Linked DNA regions of Homo sapiens: all the other regions are linked to region 7. Evidence: promoter capture Hi-C in 16 types of primary human blood cells and fetal thymus (Javierre and others, 2016). All regions are on one chromosome and are shown on one strand. The core of a region is centred on a gene start or on the middle of the fragment in contact, and the rest is flanking DNA. Distances in the headings are between cores, read along the strand shown. Region 1 overlaps SOS1 (SOS Ras/Rac guanine nucleotide exchange factor 1). Region 2 has its middle 51 kb from the start of THUMPD2. Region 3 has its middle 7.1 kb from the start of THUMPD2. Region 4 overlaps THUMPD2 (THUMP domain 2 tRNA and snRNA guanosine methyltransferase). Region 5 overlaps SOS1 (SOS Ras/Rac guanine nucleotide exchange factor 1). Region 6 overlaps THUMPD2 (THUMP domain 2 tRNA and snRNA guanosine methyltransferase). Region 7 holds the start of MAP4K3 (mitogen-activated protein kinase kinase kinase kinase 3).

Region 1 (2,700 bases), core at 166-2,665, 320 kb before region 7:
CCCCCAATCACTCAGTGAGTTACTAGATCCTGTCAATTTTGCCTTGTAAACTTCTTTCAAATAAAATCCACATCCATATTTCCATCCTTGTTCAAATGCACCCTTAGTTCAAATGTGTATTATCTCTTGACTGGACTATTAAACTAGGCTTCTAACTTTTCTCCTCACTTTACGTCTCATTCTTCTCCAAACCATTTTCCATTCTATGGCCAAAGTGAATTTTCTAAAATTAAAATGTGCTGTTACTCCCCTACTTAAAACTTATTGGCTGGGCACAGTGGCTCACCCTGTAATCCTAGCACTTTGGGAAGCTGAGGCAGGCAGATGGCTTGAGCCCAGGAGTTCAAGACCAGCCTGGTGAAACCCCATCTCTACAAAAAATACAAAAATTATCTGGATGTGGCAGTGTGCCTACAGTCTCAGGAGGCTGAGGTGGGAGGATAGCTTAAGCCCAGGAGGTGGAGGCTGCAGTGAGCCAAGATCGCACCACTGCACTCCAGCCTGTTAAGACTCTGTCTCAAAACAAACAAACAAAACAAAAACAAACAAAAGAAACTTTATCAATGGCTTCTAATTACCCAAGAAAAAATTTAAATTCCTTAGCTTAACATATATAAAAACTGTTCATAAACCAGTTGTCTCTCCAGACATGCCCTGCCACTTCCCATCATGTTCTAATTTAGTCTTTTCTGATTATGTCATTTACTTTTTTTTTTTTTTTTTGAGACAGAGTTTTGCTCTTGTTGCCCAGGTTGGAGTGCAGTGGTGCAATCTCGCCCCACTGCAACCTCCGTCTTCCGGTTTCAAGCTATTCTCCTGCCTCAGCCTCCCGAGTAGCTGGGATTACAGGTGCCCACCACCACGCCAGGCTAATTTTTGTATTTTTTAGTAGAGATGGGGTTTCACCACGTTGGCCAGGCTGGTCTTGAATTCCTGACCTCGTGATCCGCCCACCTTGCTCTCCCAAAGTGCTGGATTACAGGCGTGAGCCACTGCGCCCGGCCCTGTCATTTACCTTTTTAGCCTGAGTGTCAAGGGCAATACCTGGTCTATAGTAGGCATGATATATTTGTGCAATAGATAAGATAGGACTTAGACTCATAGATGCGGTGAAACAGATACAGTGGGACATTCCAGCCATATTCAGGAAAAGTAGCAGTCCGGACTGGCTAAAGCAAAAAGGAGATAAAAGGTTATGGTAGACAATCCAGTCAGAAAAGCAGGATGAAGCCAAATATCAATTGCTGTTAATTCTATGCTAAAAAGTGCACTTTAGCATAGGTTGAACTCAAAAGACATCAACAATTCTGAGTGTGACATGTTCAGAAGTGTCCTATAACTGGTGAGATTTGAAAAACAGAAGGTGAGGTGGGGGCCAGTGAACCCCATTAAGAAGTTATCACAGTAGTCTGACAAAGGAGACTCAATTAGAGAAGTCGGAGGAGGAATAGACTAGAAGAACATGTCAAAGGGAAATGAACATACAGGCTCTACCTGAGTGTGCACAGTAATACAAAGAAGCCAGAGATGACCCCAACATTTTAAACCAGTCAAATGTAACAATAAAGCCATTAATCGAGAAGAAAAACTGAAATGACAGGTGGAGGAGAGAAGTGATAGTTTTAGTTTGTATATCCCCTCACCTATTTATTCAAATTGAGTGCCTACCAGATGTCAAGCACTATAAGTATGGGGAATAAAATGTGGGTAAGATATCATCCCTGTTCTCAAGGAGCATCCAATCTAGTTATAGGCAAGTAAATAGGAACTTAAAATTCACAGAGCTAGGACAGGGTGCAAAAAGAAAACAAAGGAGTAATATCCAACTCAGCCCTGATGATTTGACAGTTCAGGTTGAGTGAGTCTAGAAGGATGAGTAGTGTTGGACCAGGCAAAGAAGGATGAAGGGACTAGCATATCCAAAGAGCCTCAGGTAAGAGTAAGAGAACACAAGTCGGATGTATCTACGAATAATTCAATAACAAATCAAAGGAAGAAATCAAGATATGGAGATATCCACATGAAATGTCCAGCAGGCAAGTAAAAACGTAGGTTTTGAGCTACCAACAGCATATCCAGATATGAAACATACTGTATTTTCAATCTTGTTTAGAATCATTGTTAGTGGCTATTTAAATAAGAATTGGAAGAACCTTACATATCAGCTAGATTATGTACACTTCCACCTCCTCCTATCACTTCTACTGCAAAAGTATCTCTAACTTAAAGTCAAAAGCTGTTTTATGTAAATATGCAAAAAGGACAAGTGGGGGCTGTGGTAAGGTGGAGATACATGACCTGTCTAAAGAAGGGAGCCATTTACTCAACTCCAGCAGTTTAGTGCCTCGCTTGAATACAGGCCCTAAATGACAAGACCTTCCTATTCTTCAAGAAAAGCCGAAAATTCAGGTTTTATGTAATATCTCCCATTTTCAAATATTAGCAACTAATTACATTTAAAAATAAAACAACACTATGCCAGCCAAACAAAATGCTTTTGTGGACAGATTTCAGCAAGGGCCACCAGTGTGGCAGAATTAAACAACGTCTGTCAACTCCTACAATATTCTTTCCACTGCTTCAAAGGATCCTCAGCTGATACCTTGGTGATTCCCCTGGGAAAGGAGCTGCTTTTGCCTCTAAGCAAAATGGCCCCTATTTGGCAATGCTTTATGAGTTCCTTTACACGTTTTTAAACAA
Region 2 (2,700 bases), core at 125-2,624, 290 kb after region 7:
TTTTTCTCTCTGCCGAGGTGTTCCAGAGAGTGGTTTCATCCCTCCATTTCCAAAGGTCAAGGATATTCCTCTATCTCAGAAGCCCGGACTTCTGGCTGGTATCCTCTTGCTCCTGCTCACATCCCTTTCAGATAGCTGTCACAGCAGCCATTCAGGCAGGGCCAGTTTACCAAGGAGCATTCCCAGAACCTGACATGGAGCAAGTACTCACTAACTGCCTGGTAGCTAAGTAAATAAAGAAGCAAATGAACAAATGAATAAATAACAAGATTTGAAAAGGCTACTAACACTATGGCAAAATATGAACATGCACTAAAAAAACTCACCTGGATTTCTTAATTAGCAAGATTTCTCTAAGACTTTGCATCTCACCTAATTTTAGTCCAAGGGCTTTCTTGCATAGCTCTCTGAACCGACACATTTACTTAATATCTAAGTGAGCATTTCTTCTCAAACCTCAGTTTATTTTGAATCCCTGAGACTTAGCTTTTTTATTTTTTAATTATACTTTAAGTTCTAGGGTACATGTGCACAATGTGCAGGTTCGTTACGTAGGTATACATGTGCCATGTTGGTTTGCTGCACCCATCAACTCATCATTTGCATTAGGTAATTCTCCTAATGCTATCCCTCCCCCAGCCCCCCACCCCTCGACAGGCCCCGGTGTGTGATGTTCCCCACCCTGTGTCCAAGTGATCTAACTGTTCATTTCTCATCTCTGAGAACATGAGGTGTTTGGTTTTCTGTCCCTGTGACAGTTTGCTGAGAATGATGGTTTCCAGCTTCATCCATGTCCCTGCAAAGGACATGAACTCATCCTTTTTTATGGCAGCATAGTATTCCATGGTGTATATGTGCCACATTTTCTTAATCCAGTCTATCATTGATGGACATTTGGGTTGGTTCCAAGTCTTTGCTATTGTGAATAATGCCACAATAAACATATGTGTGCATGTGTCTTTATAGTAGCATGATTTATAATCCTTTGGGTATGTACCCAGTAATGGGATTGCTGGGTCAAATGGTAATTCTAGTTCTAGATCCTCCAGGAATCGCCACACTGACTTCCACAGTGGATGAACCAATTTACACTCCCACCAACAGTGTAAAAGCATTCCTATTTCTCCACATCCTCTCCAGAATCTGTTTCCTGACTTTTTAATGATTGCCATTCTAACTGGCGTGAGATGGTATCTCATTGTGGTTTTGATTTGCATTTCTCTGAGACTTAGCTTTCTAGGTTACACAGGAAGTCGGTGTCTCCCTGGACAGCTGTCTGCTTCTTGAATGGTTTCCGAGTGTCCCTTTGATTCACTGTTCTCAGATCTACAGGCATTTATTTATTCTCTCCTACCAGGAGCTAGTTCAATTTAGTTCAAAAAATATTAATTGTTCTTTTCTGGGCCACACTCTGTACCCTATTCTGGAGGAGGAAAAAATGCTATAAAATAGTACTCCATTTATTTGACATCCTCAAATTTTCATAAATTTTCAAAAACTTTATAGTTGTATGCATTTAATATTAAAGATATTTTAGCAGAGACTAAAATCATGATTTAATTCTGCAAAGTACACCGAGATCATTAGTACTGCTACCTCTTACGATCTACATCACTGTCACTCACTTCAAGTCAAGAAATGAATTTTTTTTTTTTAACCCATCGTTTGTTGCATTTTGGTCACAGAGTCCACCCCTACACGTTTTTTCTTTTCTCCTAAAGATGTATGTAAGGCTTAGGCAGATGATGACAAAGACTGTATTATTCAAAATCTTTGGGAGGCCAAAACATTAAAAATGATTTTGGAGAGGGGTGCCAAATACTGATAAAATAGACAACTAGAAAATATGGTAACAGAAAAAATGCAAAACATTTGGAGGGACTCCACTGAGAATGAGATGTGCAGAGCCTGCAGGGCAGGAGAGTGCTTCAGTAACCTTGGTGTGTGGCACAGCGCCCCCAGCTGCAATCAACAGAATAACTCTAGGTTGTTCGGCAGAAAAGGAATTCATTAAAAAAAAATTAGAATGCTCAATAGGGCCAGAAAATTAATCTAGGGGACTACACAACCAGGAACACCATCCAAACCATACAACAAGATGGTAGTTTCAAAGATTCACTGCCACCCCTGCCGGGGATCCACACCATAGCTTGCACCATGGATATTGAACGCTGAATGCTGTCCTCTACCCCAGCTAGCCCCTGAGGCCAGATGCTTCTGCTGCCTCTCCCCCAGAAAGTGGATTCCATGGTGCCTGGTTCCTCCGCATAGCTCACATCTGAATCCAATTATCATATGTCAGTGTCTGGCCCCCATTCTACCTATAATATAGGTCGGAAAAGCTGGTGTTCTGGTTTCTGCCTTGGAGAGGTGGGACTCAAACATTGGAAAATACGATAATTCACCACTTTGATGTACCCTTTGGATGCCCAACATCAATATCTGTTCTTAATTTGATATTTAAACTTCCTCCAACCAACCAATATTCGCATGTAAAATATGCAATTATACTTGACAGAAAAACCTGCTCATCCTCTCCCCTTCTGACAAGGGTAACACATCCATGTCAAGAACATGATTTCTGGGTGGCTTCCATTCCTCCTCTAGTTCCATCTGATATTCTGTAAGTTAGGGTTTAAACTATGCGATGGAAGTCTTAAATTGGGAGGGAGTTGAAAGTCATCCTACTCTTGACCAATG
Region 3 (2,700 bases), core at 198-2,697, 350 kb after region 7:
AACATTGGCTTTATTCAGTCAGTATTGCTCCTGTCGTTGGCATGAAGGAAGAGTAGACTATGGAACAAGCAGACTTACTTATTACATATTTGTCTTTTTATATTTTTCTTTTTGTTGAAGAGTGATAATTACTTGCTGCCCATGGATATCTTGCATGATTTTGAAAAATGGATTTTAGCACCGTTGAAAAAGTGTTCTCTGTTATATCTACACATAATCAGGCCTATCCTCTAATGATTTTCTTTTAAAAAGTCTGAAATCTAATAATTAAAAATTTACTATTTATATTCATATTTAATGTTACAATTTTTGCAATGAGTATGAATTACTTGGCTAAACAGAAAAACAATACAGATACAAAACAAAAGCATACAACCTGAAGCACTGGCTTAGGCAATCATTTCATTCTCTCGTAAAACATCTTTGAAATAAGACATAATGCCTGAAATTATTTGATGCCAGTTGAGCTTTCAGATCACAGACAGGTAACAATATTTGCACCTTCAATCACTATGTATGGCTTTGGTGCTCTGTCTCTCTGATCAGTTTAGATGATATGGAACTTCTGTCTCATAAACTTCGAAATCGAAATGTAGCCAGGTTAAGAAAAATAATTTTAAAAGCTGGTCCTGGAATTCATCTTAGGTACAAAATAGTCTGTTTACGAAAATTTTTTGATGGAGTTTAGTGAGGCTCTGAAGTCATAAACAGAGAAATACAGAGATAATTAAACTGTTCTGCGTAAGAAGTCAAAAGGAGGTAGGAAATACCCTAACGGGGGGGAAAGATCAGATAATGGGGAACCTGTGGAACAGCATCGTGCAAAGCTGAGACCAGTGAGGATGAGCTGGCCGTAAGAGACTCGCTGTGGGGTGTTGGCTGAGAACTTCTAAGAAGGATGTTCAGTGCTCAAATTTGTTTCTGGCACTGCCAGGTTAAACCATCTTTAGTGGTCCAAACTTTCAGTAAAATAAACAAACAAAACACAGCCATTTGCTTCAAATAGTAGGAGTGAAAGTACCAGGGTGATGCACTCAAAGTAAGGTGCTGTGATAAGGAAAAGGAGTGGCATCCTCTGCATGGGTTGTGGAGGTCTTTCAATGGAGTACATTCAGGAGAAGCAGGAAGTCAGAGCACAGGCTGGTAAGGGGCACCTAAGCATGTGGTCTGTCATCAGGGAATGCACAGAGAGGGGTGCTGGGTCATCATTGCCATAGAATGCGGGTGCAAACCAATTTTAAATCAAGATAATCCAGTTGACATCTGAGTTTGGCTGAATTTATTCCTCACTGACAATAGATTTTCTATAAATCAAACCTCTAATGCTTAAGTGCTTATTACTTATTGTTGATAGGTGTGGACAATGCAATCTTGGGCCAACTCAGGGCAGGTTAATTAATGGGGATTATAATCAGGGGTTGGGCCTTATAGTCTCAATTTTATATTTTGTGATTTCTTATAGGTTTTCCAGCACTTTGGGAGGCTGAGGCGTGTGGATCACCTGAGGTCAGGAGTTCGAGACTAGCCTGGCCAACGTGGTAAAACCCAGTCTCTACTAAAGATACAAAAATTAGTGGGGCATTGTAGTGCATGCCTATAATCCCACCTACTCAGGAAGCTGAGACAGAATTGCTTGAACCCGGGAGGTGGAGGCTGCAGTGAGCCTAGATCTCTCCACTGCACTCCAGCCTGGGCAACAGAGTGAGACTCCATCTCAAAAAAAAAATATTTTGTACTAGCACATTGATTAATTGTGTTAATCAGAATTGATTGAATCTGTTATCTGGACATTGTACGTAGATTGCGTTGAATGTTGTATTGGCTGTCTACGTTAGATGCAGGTTACAGTGTAGGTTTTCCAGAGTTTTTGGGCTGGGCACACACACTCTTAAGTTGGCAGCTTTCTTTTTAACAGTGGTGGTGAGCTTCTTTAAATAACGACTTCCTAAATTTGTGAAAGAGTGTGTGTACTGGGAGGGAGAGAAGTGCTGTTACAAAACCCCAAGGCTTCTTGTCTGTGGGTTGAGCACAGCCCGCTACGGTTTTGGAAAGATGGATTTCCTGGAAGACAACTTTGCTACTGAGCATCATCTAGTAAATAAAGTCCTAAGACACAGAAGTCTATAACAAATATTGGAAATTATTGTTAATCCAAACAATCTCAGATATATTTGACATCCATATGTTTTAATTGTATAGCCCAGTTATGTCAAGCAGAGTCATGTACTGCATAAAGATGTTTTGGTCAATGATCAACTGCATATATGATGGTGGTACTGTGAGATCATTATGGAGCTGAAAAATCCCTATTGCCTAATGACATCATAGCTGTCATAACTTCATAGCACAACATGTCACTCATATCACTCATATGTTTGTTACAACATGTTACAAACATATGAGTAACGTGTTGTGCTATGATATTATGCAGGTATAAACAAACCTACACAGACTGCATTGCCAGTCATAAAGAAGTATAGCCCATACAATTATGTACAGTACATAATATTTGATAATGATAATAAATGACTATGTTACTGGCATATGTATTTATTATGCTGTATTTTTAAATCATTATTTTAGAGTATACTGCTTCTGCTTATAAAGAAAAAGTTAACTGTAAAACAGCCTCAGATGGGTCCTTTAGCAGGTATTCTAGAAGAAGAGATTATCATAGAAGATGACTGCTCTGTGTGTGTT
Region 4 (2,760 bases), core at 70-2,569, 330 kb after region 7:
AACTTTAAATATTAACAGCTTAATCAGAATTATTCCAATATTGATCAATTTCATCAAGAAAAGACTTACCTGGAGTGATTCCATTTGGTCAATTTAATTACCTGATTAACTGATACATCACAGCTAAACTTCCCAATTTTACATATTATGCATTTTAGCAAAACTATTTATTAGAATTGTTTTCTATTGACAATTTATTCTAAAGATACGACATGTTCATATATCAAATGTTATTAAGAATAGCCTCTCCCACTATAAATGTTTTCCTATCAATTTTGCAGAAGGAAATTTGTTGAGATTTGATTCCTCTGTCAATTTTTTAGTCACAAATTTTACTACGTGTGATTTTTGTGTTGCCAATTTTGTGTTAATTATTTGTATCCATAATAGCTATTATTAATTGCATTAAATGGCTGATAGGAATTGAATTTGCTATATTTATTTATGAGATAATCTATGAGAAAAACAATTCTGAGACAATGAGATGGACTCAGGGAGATGGGGACGAGAAAGCCAGAGAGAAGATGATTAAGAATTGGAAAGGGGGCCGGGCGCGGTGGCTCACGCCTGTAATCCCAGCACTTTGGGAGGCCGAGGCGGGCGGATCACGAGGTCAGGAGATCGAGACCATCCCGGCTAAAACGGTGAAACCCCGTCTCTACTAAAAATACAAAAAATTAGCCGGGCGTAGTGGCGGGCGCCTGTAGTCCCAGCTACTTGGGAGGCTGAGGCAGGAGAATGGCGTGAACCCGGGAGGCGGAGCTTGCAGTGAGCCGAGATCCCGCCACTGCACTCCAGCCTGGGCGACAGAGCGAGACTCCGTCTCAAAAAAAAAAAAAAAAAAAGAATTGGAAAGGGGCAGATAAGAGAATGATACTCGTATGTCAAAACATTCTTGGGATCAAAACATTTAGTATGACAAACAATAAAAAATATATACCAGGTATTATTTTTTTAAAGTGACAAATGTCAGACAAGCGCAAATCTAAAAATAAAACAACACACAATGTTCTGATTTATTTGGCCAGTTATTACTCCATTTAAACCTACATAACAAGTAATAAATAAATTTATGAATTAATGAATCATGAAAATGATTGGTTATACGTCAACTTTATAAGATGGCTTTCAAAAAATAGCAAAGAATATTTTTTGTTTCCCCATACAAATACTTGTTTGTTCCAAATAAAAATACTGTAACCTTATTAATTTTGGAAAATAAAAACATAATCCCATACCCATAACAAAGCCACTATTAACATACTATTGAATTTTGTGTAGGACTTTGTTGTTATCCATTTTTTTAATATTAGCTAAAATTTTTAAAATCACAGATTGTGTGTATTATAGAGACTATAGAGAACATCGCTGTAACCTCATAATAAATGTTTTTTTCTTCAACTGTGACCAGACAACTCCATTCCAAAAAATCTTTTTTTGGAGTTTGCATAAGACATTTTCTCAGTGAAAACTGCTAGCAAAACTATCTGTACTATTCTACTGCTAAAGATAAAATGGACTGTTGGATCCCTGTAGATACACTTTTTATAACTGTAAAATAAAACGGAAAAGTATGATAAGAATACAGGACACTGTCTTTAAAGAATTAGGTTACAAGTATATAAAATAAAACAAATACTCATTACCTCTAATTGTGGATTCCTCAAGTCTGCTTTCCATCCAAAGTGTTTCATAATAGCAATTCCAATTACTTTTCCTACCTCCTGGAAAAGTACCAAGTTAAAGAAAAGAATACTAAAAATGAAAATTTTAAGTTTAAATGTCAGCAAAACTAACAGAGTAGCCTATAAGAAAATCAAGTCAGGCTATCTGATGGTAATTTAGAGTTCTGATATTAAAATTGTACATGAAAGCATTTCCTATTCAAGGCAGTAAGGCTGTATTTTACCTGCCCTAGCCCCCAGTACACCCCATGGCATTAATGTCTACTCATGCATAATCTCTATCCTTGTAATTTTAGGTATATGAAATAACTAGATTATGACCTGATAAATATGATCATTCTGGGTTTCAGGAAATAGATGCAAGCTGAAAGATTAACTATGTCAGCTACTATAAGCCTATGTGTTTAAAAATTATCAGATTAGTATCATTAGACTCACCCTTTAGGGTTTGACTGATTTTAAGGTTGATAAAGTATTCAGACCAATGGCCTTTAACATCACTGAACTTTGTAAGGGCCAACTGATGAGGTCTGGTGATGGCAACAGTTTGTGGTGTTCGCTCTTCTCTACATTGCTGAGACCTCATGTGCATTTGCAGTCTAGGTCCTGGTGACAATCCCATGTACAGGACCTGTGCAGAGTAGCCACTGAATAAGCACAAAGCTGAACTGAAGAGAAACCCCAAAAGCTGAGGACTATGGTATCAGGATTTCCAAATACAAAGGACATCTGTAGATTTAAGGAAATTTTTAGGCAGAAAGTATAAGAAAGTCATTACTTGGAATGGCATACCATTCCTCTTAAACATCTGAGGAAAAATTAAAAGGAAAATGTAGTTTTAAAGACATTTAATTCCATAAGAACTAATTGTCTGCGGCTAGTTATTTGTTCTGTGAGAGGTTTGCATCTCATTTTAAATCTAAAGAATAATTAATTCTTTAAAAAATGGGACCCCCAGGCCAGGCATGGTGGCTCCCGCCTGTAATCCCAGCACTTTGGGAGGCCGAGGTGGTTGGATCACTTGAGGTCAGGAGTTCCAGACCAGCCTGACCAATATGGTGAAACCCTGTCTCTA
Region 5 (2,700 bases), core at 172-2,671, 380 kb before region 7:
ACTAAACTTAAGGAAAGGAACTCTTTTTTTTTTTTTCTTCTGAGACGGAGTCTCGCTCTGTCGCCCAGGCTGGAGTGCAGTGGCGCGATCTCGGCTCACTGCAAGCTCCGCCTCCCAGGTTCACGCCATTCTCCTGCCTCAGCCTCCCGAGTAGCTGGGATTACAGACGCTCGCCACCACGCCCGGCTAATTTTTTGTATTTTTAGTAGAGATGGGGTTTCACCGTGTTAGCCAGGATGGTCTCCATCTCCTGACCTCGTGATCTGCCCGCCTCGGCCTCCCAAAGTGCTGGGATTACAGGCGTGAGCCACCGTGCCCAGCAGAACTGTTTCTTATTCATCTTTGAATCCCTGCTGCCAAGCATGGTACCTGACAATACAGTTGGCATTGATGAAGTGTAGGTTGAATGATTCAAATGACTCAAACAAACATATCTTCCACCTAAACAAGAAGCTTTATCCTTTGGAGTACATGGAGAATTCTGTGAATTCATTTTCACTTACATAATCAGTCTACTTTGTATTTTGTCTCTTAATTTCTAATGTTAAATCTCTTGAAACTGTTGTAAAACTTTGTGATCATGAATTAAGTCCCACAACTTAAAAAAATTAACAAATTAGTAATGATGAACTGTACAACTTCAAATTTGAAGTGGTCATGCAAATTTCACAACACATTCAATGAGAGGCATATATACAATGATACTTACATTAGCTGAAAACAATTTTGAATTGGAGACAAAGGGCTCTCTAAAAACTTTTATAATTAGATTTAGTTCCCTTATATATTGTCGAATTTCTGCCATAAATGCTTTTACCAAATCATAGTAAGTTTGTTCTCCTGAGGTGGAAGGCTCTTCGTCAGTTAAAGATAATATATTAATATCTTCTACATCTTGATGAAACATATCCATCAATACCTATACAGTCAGAGATATAAAAAAGTATAATAAAATATGAAGCTTTCGTAGAATTTGATGTGAAATGCTCTAAGTTCTCTGAATAAAGTTCTTAAATGATAAAAAAGCAGACAAACAAATTTCTCTTCTTGGATATATTGCCAGCATCCCTCCACAGCTTCTCTAAAACAGAATTCAACATGTGATATAACTTACTACACTCCTCCAAGTTCTCTATCACTACTAGTATTTATCTGTCTGTCTCTCTTGTTAACCTATTACTTCCAATTTGTTTCCAGATCCTGTCTTTAATTTCCCTGACTTGGTTTTCTCTGTTTTATACCCTGCCATCATCACTTTATTCCATGGCCTCAGTATCTCATATTTAAATGTTTATAGCTGTCTATTCGGCCGATTTTCCTACATTTGTTGGGAATAGGTCAAAATAAGCTATTATTTTCTGCAAGAAGTCTACTGTTACTACTCTTGCTACAACACATCTTTCCCCTTCTTGAGAACTTCTACAGCATCATATCTCTATAACACAATAAAATATTATTTTATCTTGTGTGCTTTCTGATTGTTTCATGAATATAAGTATACCTTCATCAACTCTGGAGCCTTGTTTTATATATACTTATCTTGCATCTCCTCTCTGTGTAAACATGTAGTAGGTACTCAAAAATATTTTATTTATCTGATTCATTAAAAAGCATCAAGTATTTCGTATTCGTGTCTTCAGTTAAAAATACCCAAACATTTGAAATTCTTCTTCAAATCAGGTGGGTTTTTTCACTCTATATGGCCACATTCTCAAAGAACAAATAAATACTAAAACATAATTTAGTGGAATCAGCAATCAGAAATAATATTCCAAATCAGTAAGAGTATAATGAGGAAAATGGAATGAAATGCTTCATCAGAAAACATTTTCCTTTCTGCAAAGTTGTTTTCATAAAGTGAACATCCTTAGGTAATGACTAAAAGCTTTAGACTCAGAGAGACCTGGAGTTCAAGTCTAGGCTTTGAAACTTCTCAGAAAATTCTGGACCAATTTCTTTATCCCTGTGAATTTCAGTCTCCCTTTTATAAAATGTAGCTAAGATCACTTACCTTAGAGGAATATCATAAGGACCAACGGAGATAAGCCACATATATGCTTAACCTTCAATAAGTGTTTGCTCTTATTATTATTATTGTAAAACCACAAAGTAGTATCTGAAGAAAGCTAGGTGCTGAAGTAAAACTATCGTTTTGTGGTTTTACATTTTGAAAAATTGTTTTTAAGTAAATCCGTAACCTTACAAATCTTTCAATCCAAATAAATTTTAAGAAATTAACTACTAGCTGGGTGTGGTGGCTCATGCCTGTAATTCCAGCACTTTGGGAGGCCAAGGCGGTCAGGAGTTCGAGACCAGCCTGACCAACATGGTGGAACCCTGTCTCTACTAAAAATACAAAAAAATTAGCTAGGCATGGTGGTGTGTGCCTGTAATCCCAGCTACTCAGGAGGCTGAGGCAGGACAATCACTTGAATCCAGGAGGCGGAGGTTGCAGTGAGCCAAGACTGTGCCACTGCACTCCAGCCTGGGCGACAGAGTGAGATTCCGTCTCAAAAAAAAGAAAAAAGAAAAGAAATTAACTATTAAGAGATTACTCTAATTAACCCTAGTTGCAACAGCACAGAAGAAAAAAACTGCATGACATATTTAAACACATTTTAATATTATATATCTAATGTCTTATTTCTATAAAGTGGTATCTTGAATCCCTACTATTAGGTTACTGGAGATATTCCCCAA
Region 6 (2,700 bases), core at 112-2,611, 310 kb after region 7:
AATTATCTCTATTATTCTTTTAATTGTTTTACCAAATTTAGATGATACAAAATTAAGGCCTTCACAATTTCATTCCATTCCATTCTAGACTACAAATTTATCCAATTACAATAAGGAAAGTCATCAGGAGATTCTTTCCATACCATATCCAAAGAATATTTATAGAATTTCATAATTAAGTCTTGTGCATTGTTGAGCTTTCAATATTTGTTCATTTCTTCGTGTTTTTAGGGAAAGATGATCAATGTCTTCCTGCTGCCAGCTTTAACAACTGTAATTCACCAAAAAATTCAAAAGCTAATGTATTTTGGCACTTCATTTGTTGAATCCTTTGATTATAGATTTCCAGTATATTCTGAATAAAATGCCATCAAAATTAGGCAACTTTTTTTTGGTAAAGTTTATAGCACCACCCTAGGACACTTTGGCTGATTTACAGAGTAATTCTTTGAAGGCTTACACTTTAAAACCCAACTGATGGACAAGCAAAGAAAGTGTACTGTTATGCAGAAGCATTTTTTTTGCATTCAGTCATCTTCAACACAAATAGTTTGCAGTTCATCTGTTCTGTGTATATTTTAAAAAGAAGGCCGGGTACGGTGGTTCACGCCTGTAATCCCAGCACTTTGGGAGGCCAAGGCAGGTGGATCATGAGGTCAAGAGATTGAGACCATCCTGGCCAACATGGTGAAACCCCATACAAAAATTAGCTGGGCGTGGTAGCATGCGCCTGTAGTCCCAGCTACTCAGGAGGCTGAAGCGGGAGAATTGCTTGAACCCAGGAGGCGGAGGTTGCAGTGAGCCGAAATTGCGCCACTGCACTCCAGCCTGGCGACAGAGTGAGAGTCTGTCTCAAAAAAAAACAAAAAAAGTGGCCAGGTATGGGGTGGCTCACACCTGTAATCCCAGCACTCCGGGAGGCTGAGCTGGGAGGATCATTTAAGACCAACCTGGGCAATACAGTGAGACCCCATCTCTATTTTTTTAAAAAAGAAAATTAGCCAGGCATGGTGGTGAGTACCTCCTACAGTCCTAGCTACTTGGGAAGCTGAGATGGGAGGACTGCTTGAGCCCAGGAGTTCGTTCAAGGCTGCAGTAAGCTATTATCAGACCACTACACTCTAGCCTGGGTGACAGAGCAAGTCTCTCTCTTAAAAAAAAAAACAAAACAAAATTCAATTATTTTGACAAGTGTCTGTTTCAATGGACACTACAGCCTGTTTGGAGGTAATTATGAATTATATGGGTATAACATTAAATTTCAAGTGCATTTCTGCTCCATAGGTTTTAATAAGAATATTAATTTTTAGCATGATGTTGTGGCCCACCAAAGTAATGCATAAGCACACAGATTGGCAATGCCAAACTGAATTCACAGTAGCATTCACAAAGAAGTTGCATCTTTGACAGAAAAAAACCCTATGAAATTTCGAAGAGAGTAAAAAAGAAACAAAGCTACTACTGGAATTGACTTAACTGATTATCTTTCTAAATTATGTGATGATATTGATACAAAACTGGCAACATTTAACTATCTGCAAAGGTCTTCTGCTAATGAAGCCAGCACATTAACAGTACCAGCTTCATTTTGCTTAGGTGCATAACAAAACTCACAATTGAATATGAGCAAAATAAATTTAGAATAGCCATTTGATCTAAAGGGAAAGTCATACTTCACAGAGTGATATTTTAAATGCATTTTCTTCAGTTGCATGTGATAAATTGTTGGCTTTGGGCCTAGCATTCTTAGAATTACTAAGTTTTTATTTTTTTTCCTTCAACTTTTAAGTTCCAGGGTATATGTGCAGGATGTATGGGTTTGCTACATAATGTGTGTACCGTGGTGGTTTGCTACAGATCAACCCACCACCTTGGTAATAAGACCAGCATCCATTAGCTATTCTTCCTAATGCTCTCCCTCCCCTCCCACCTCCCCCTGACAGACCCCTGTGTGTGTTGTCCCCCAACCACGTGTTCTCATCGTTTAGCTCCCACTTATAAGTGAAAACATGCAGTGTTTGGTTTTCTGTTCCTGCGTTAGTTTGCTGAGGATAACAGCTTCAAGCACCATCCATGTCCCTGCAAAGGACATTATCTTGTTCCTTTTTATGTTTACACAGTATTTTACGGTATATATGTACTATATTTTCTTTATCCAGTCTGTCACTGATGGGCATTTGGGTTGACTCTGTGTCTTTGCTATCATGAATAGTGCTCAAGTGAACATATGTGTGCATGTATCTTTATTCTAGAATGATTTACATTCCTTTGGATATATGCACTGTAATGGAATTGCTGGGTCAAATGGTATTTCTGCCTCCGGATCTTTGAGGAATCACCACACTGTCTTCCCAACGGTTGAAGTCATTTACACTCCCACCAACGGTGTAAAGGCGTTCCCTTTTATCCACAACCTCACCACCATCTGTTGTTTCTGGACTTTTTAATAATCGCCATTCTGACTGGCATGAGATGGTTTCCCATTGTGGTTTTGATTCGCATTTCTCTAATGATCAGTGATGTTGAGCTTTTCTTTGTATGTTAGTTGGCCATATGAATGTCTTCTTTTGAGAAGTATCTGCTCATGTCTTTTGCTCACTTTTTAATGGGGTTGTTTTTTTCTTATAAATTTGTTAGGCCAAGGCGGGTGGATTGCCTGAGCTCAGGAGTTTGCGACCAGCCTGGGCAACATGGCGAAAC
Region 7 (2,700 bases), core at 74-2,573:
AAAATTAAGTTTCTTTGTGCATCCTCAGGTGTTATGTGAAACTGGAGGAGTTCAACTTCAGTTACCAGTAAGAAGATACACAACTAAATCAAGACTGCTGCCACATTTGGCAACAACCTCCTCTCTTCTTGGCAGTAACTGTGAGGCCAAGAGTTGAGTTGGCCAGGGAAGAGTGATTTATCTTCCCACATTTAGAAGTGGTCCCTCTACAACAGGAATGCTGTACCGCTACTGGACTTTGAATTCTAACCTTGTCAAACCAGTACCTTCCCTAAGTATTCAAGTCACTTTTTAAAAAACAAGTTTAAATGGCATCGCAGTCCAATTCGACTTAGAGAAAACAAAGTTGCTCTTTCCAAAAAAAAAAAAAAGTCATTACTCTGGAAAATTAAAAGAAACTGACAGGGGGATGAATAAGGCGCTAAAGGCTGAGAGCTGTCGATGGAAGATGGAGGTCGCTCAGCATAGTATAATAACTACCACCGAGGCCTGGTGGGCAGCAGCTCCCAACCTAGAGCGGACGACCCCAGGTTGGCGTGAAGCAGGCAGGTTTGACAACACCAGACCCCTGCTGTCCGGTTCGTCGCGCTGACCCTGCCAACGCAACAAACGCCCAGACCTTCTCTGCACTATGGATGAGCAGTGTGGCCTGCTCTCGTTCTGCCCTTCCCTGGAAATGCGCGCAAGAAGGGAGGTGGCAAAAATCATGTCCACCGGGGGGGCTCAGGTAAGGGCTGGGGAGGTCTCGGGGTTAAACATTCGGCCCTTTGTTCACCAAGGCAGCAGAGCCCTTGGCGTCCGCAGCTCCTCCTCCCCGACTGCTCCCTGGCGCCAGCGTCTCCCGAGGACAGGCGGCAAGGGCTCGGACGCCCAGGCTTGGCTGCGGGTCGGGATCCCACGGCCTCGGCGGCGCGCGGCCCCTGCCTTTACCTTGTAGACGTCGCCGTAGGTGCCGCTGCCGATGCGCTGAATCAGCTCGAAGTCCTCCTGCGGGTTCCGGCGGGACAAATCGAAGCCGGGGTTCATGGCGGGCCCCAGGTGCCCCCCGCCTCCCTCCCGGGCAGGGGAGGGGGGCCGCTCAGGGGGCCACACGGAGAGAGGGCGCCGCGGCCGGCTCCCGGCTCCCCCGGCGGTCACAATCACCCGGCTCCACGCTGCGGCCGCCGCCGCCGCCGCCGCTCCCCTCACGCCGCTGCGGACGACGACAAGCGGCCAATCGTCCCCGCCCCCCGCGGCCCGCCGCCGCGCCGAACCTGGTCACACCCACAAGGAGAGGAGAACCCTCGCAGCCCCTCGCTCGGGGTGAAACTCCAACATGGCTTCCGCTTTCGCCGCTCCTCCCCCTCCCCTTACTCCGGCTCCTCCAACCTCCTCCCCTTTTCCCGACTCCCGCCCGACTGCGCAGCCGCGATCCCGGAGGGAGCGCGCCAGGCCTGGCGCGCACCCGACCCCTTGCGCGTTCCGGCTCCGCGCGCCTGCCAGGCCGGGGCCGGCGGCGGAACAGCTTGGGACCCGAAACGCCTCGGCTTTTCTGCGGACCCGCGCCCGGCCGCTGCCGCCGGACGCTTGAAAAGGTTTGCCTGGCCCAGGGACCGGGGTTAGGACTAGCAGAAAGTGGCTTCTTTTCGTTTCTGATTCCCCTAACGACAAAGTTGGACCTTGGTCTATCTGGTCCCAGTTCCAAGCAGGTAGCATAGTGGTAATATCCAAGACAGCCAATGTCCCAGCCTTTATTATTTTAGAAGCAGCTACATGTAGGATACCATGGAGTGCTGCAGCCTTTCTGGGATTGCGGGGAGGGGTCACTAAACACACCGTGAGGAAAACCCCCAGGAAAAGTGAGCTGTGCTTGCTTGCCCCTGTCACCGACACTCGGACCCTTGGAGTTGGCCTGCCAGGGTGCAAAGGAGGGCAGGCCAGGAGGGCCGCGAGGGAGGTGTGTGCAGTGGGCAGAGCGTGAAAGCTCCGGGAGGAAAACACGCGGAACAGCTGCCCACCATCCCGCGTGGGAGGCAGGCAGAGCGCAGAACTAAAGCAGTGATTGACCTCCCTCTTCGAAGAGGGTTGGATTATCAAAGACGGGCGGGGACTGCGCAGGCTGTCAAGCAACCCTGTAAAGAAGGGGTGGAGAGTGGACTAGATCTATTACCGCACCTGAAATATAAACACGTGACGATCCGGAAGCTCTTTAGCTGTGACCTTACCTACCCAAAAACCCCACCCTGCTTAAGACCCAGATTGCGCGTCTTACATCTGAGCTATGTGGACTCCAGCTCCGATTGTTAATACTTGCCCAAGAAAGCTTGAGGGTAATGGAAGGTTATTTTTCTGTTCTCATTGAACTTCCCAATAGACATTTGCAGGAGCTTTAATCAATTAGGTGATGGCCACTTTGGCAATACCACGTTGGAGTTTTGCTTCAGAAATGCTTTCCTAATCCCCTTAGGCACCACACCTTCTAACCACTAATATTCCCTAATACCTCGTGGCTCCTGAGAAACTAGGTCTCATCAAACCTGTTAAGGATAAGTATAATAAATTAATAGTAGAGCAAACTACTTAGAGTTAACTGCTTCATACTTTTTCAAAAAATCTTTTGAATCCTTTTGCTCATAGGAAAATTGCATATGTACTAAATTCTCAAATTGTTTACTTTGAGTATCTGTTGACTAAATTGATGTTTGAAAATGGTTATCTCTT

The links. The method cuts DNA at HindIII sites, captures the fragments that hold promoters and counts their contacts. A CHiCAGO score of 5 or more calls a contact.
Region 1: a fragment that was not itself captured here is called in contact with the fragment with the promoter of MAP4K3 in region 7 in 1 of 17 cell types (total B cells); the score reaches 5.1 in total B cells.
Region 2: a contact is called between a fragment that was not itself captured here and the fragment with the promoter of MAP4K3 in region 7, in 8 of 17 cell types (M2 macrophages, naive B cells, total B cells and 5 more). The highest score is 15.7, in M2 macrophages.
Region 3: a fragment that was not itself captured here is called in contact with the fragment with the promoter of MAP4K3 in region 7 in 1 of 17 cell types (total B cells); the score reaches 5.0 in total B cells.
Region 4: a contact is called between a fragment that was not itself captured here and the fragment with the promoter of MAP4K3 in region 7, in 5 of 17 cell types (erythroblasts, naive B cells, total B cells and 2 more). The highest score is 8.1, in erythroblasts.
Region 5: a fragment that was not itself captured here is called in contact with the fragment with the promoter of MAP4K3 in region 7 in 1 of 17 cell types (naive B cells); the score reaches 5.9 in naive B cells.
Region 6: a contact is called between a fragment that was not itself captured here and the fragment with the promoter of MAP4K3 in region 7, in 5 of 17 cell types (erythroblasts, total B cells, naive B cells and 2 more). The highest score is 7.8, in erythroblasts.

What each region holds. Positions count from the first base shown.
Region 1 is chr2:39,116,323-39,119,022 of GRCh38, forward strand. All of the region lies in intron 1 of SOS1 (SOS Ras/Rac guanine nucleotide exchange factor 1), which reads right to left. Among named protein-coding and RNA genes, the nearest start is that of SOS1, 3.4 kb to the right of the region's middle. The HindIII fragment of the contact is 3,710 bases long and covers 1-2,700 here.
Region 2 is chr2:39,727,079-39,729,778 of GRCh38, forward strand. It overlaps a transcript of TMEM178A not described here. Among named protein-coding and RNA genes, the nearest start is that of THUMPD2, 51 kb to the right of the region's middle. The HindIII fragment of the contact is 4,148 bases long and covers 1-2,700 here.
Region 3 is chr2:39,784,991-39,787,690 of GRCh38, forward strand. No RefSeq gene overlaps it. Among named protein-coding and RNA genes, the nearest start is that of THUMPD2, 7.1 kb to the left of the region's middle. The HindIII fragment of the contact is 5,862 bases long and covers 1-2,700 here.
Region 4 is chr2:39,766,778-39,769,537 of GRCh38, forward strand. THUMPD2 (THUMP domain 2 tRNA and snRNA guanosine methyltransferase) reads right to left here. Exons shown (of 10, transcript NM_025264.5): 4 at 1,647-1,724. Among named protein-coding and RNA genes, the nearest start is that of THUMPD2, 11 kb to the right of the region's middle. The HindIII fragment of the contact is 4,113 bases long and covers 1-2,760 here.
Region 5 is chr2:39,053,905-39,056,604 of GRCh38, forward strand. It overlaps SOS1 (SOS Ras/Rac guanine nucleotide exchange factor 1), which reads right to left. Exons shown (of 23, transcript NM_005633.4): 5 at 710-919. Among named protein-coding and RNA genes, the nearest start is that of SOS1, 66 kb to the right of the region's middle. The HindIII fragment of the contact is 924 bases long and covers 960-1,883 here.
Region 6 is chr2:39,747,833-39,750,532 of GRCh38, forward strand. All of the region lies in intron 8 of THUMPD2 (THUMP domain 2 tRNA and snRNA guanosine methyltransferase), which reads right to left. All of the region lies in intron 2 of LOC124905994 (a long non-coding RNA gene), which reads left to right. Among named protein-coding and RNA genes, the nearest start is that of THUMPD2, 30 kb to the right of the region's middle. The HindIII fragment of the contact is 3,634 bases long and covers 1-2,700 here.
Region 7 is chr2:39,435,962-39,438,661 of GRCh38, forward strand. MAP4K3 (mitogen-activated protein kinase kinase kinase kinase 3) reads right to left here and starts at 1,324. Exons shown (of 34, transcript NM_003618.4): 1 at 931-1,324. The coding sequence starts at 1,026. It overlaps MAP4K3-DT (MAP4K3 divergent transcript), which reads left to right and starts at 1,455. Exons shown (of 6, transcript NR_037875.1): 1 at 1,455-1,574. RefSeq lists an enhancer at 518-597 and silencers at 928-1,287, 1,358-1,577. The HindIII fragment of the contact is 5,405 bases long and covers 1-2,300 here.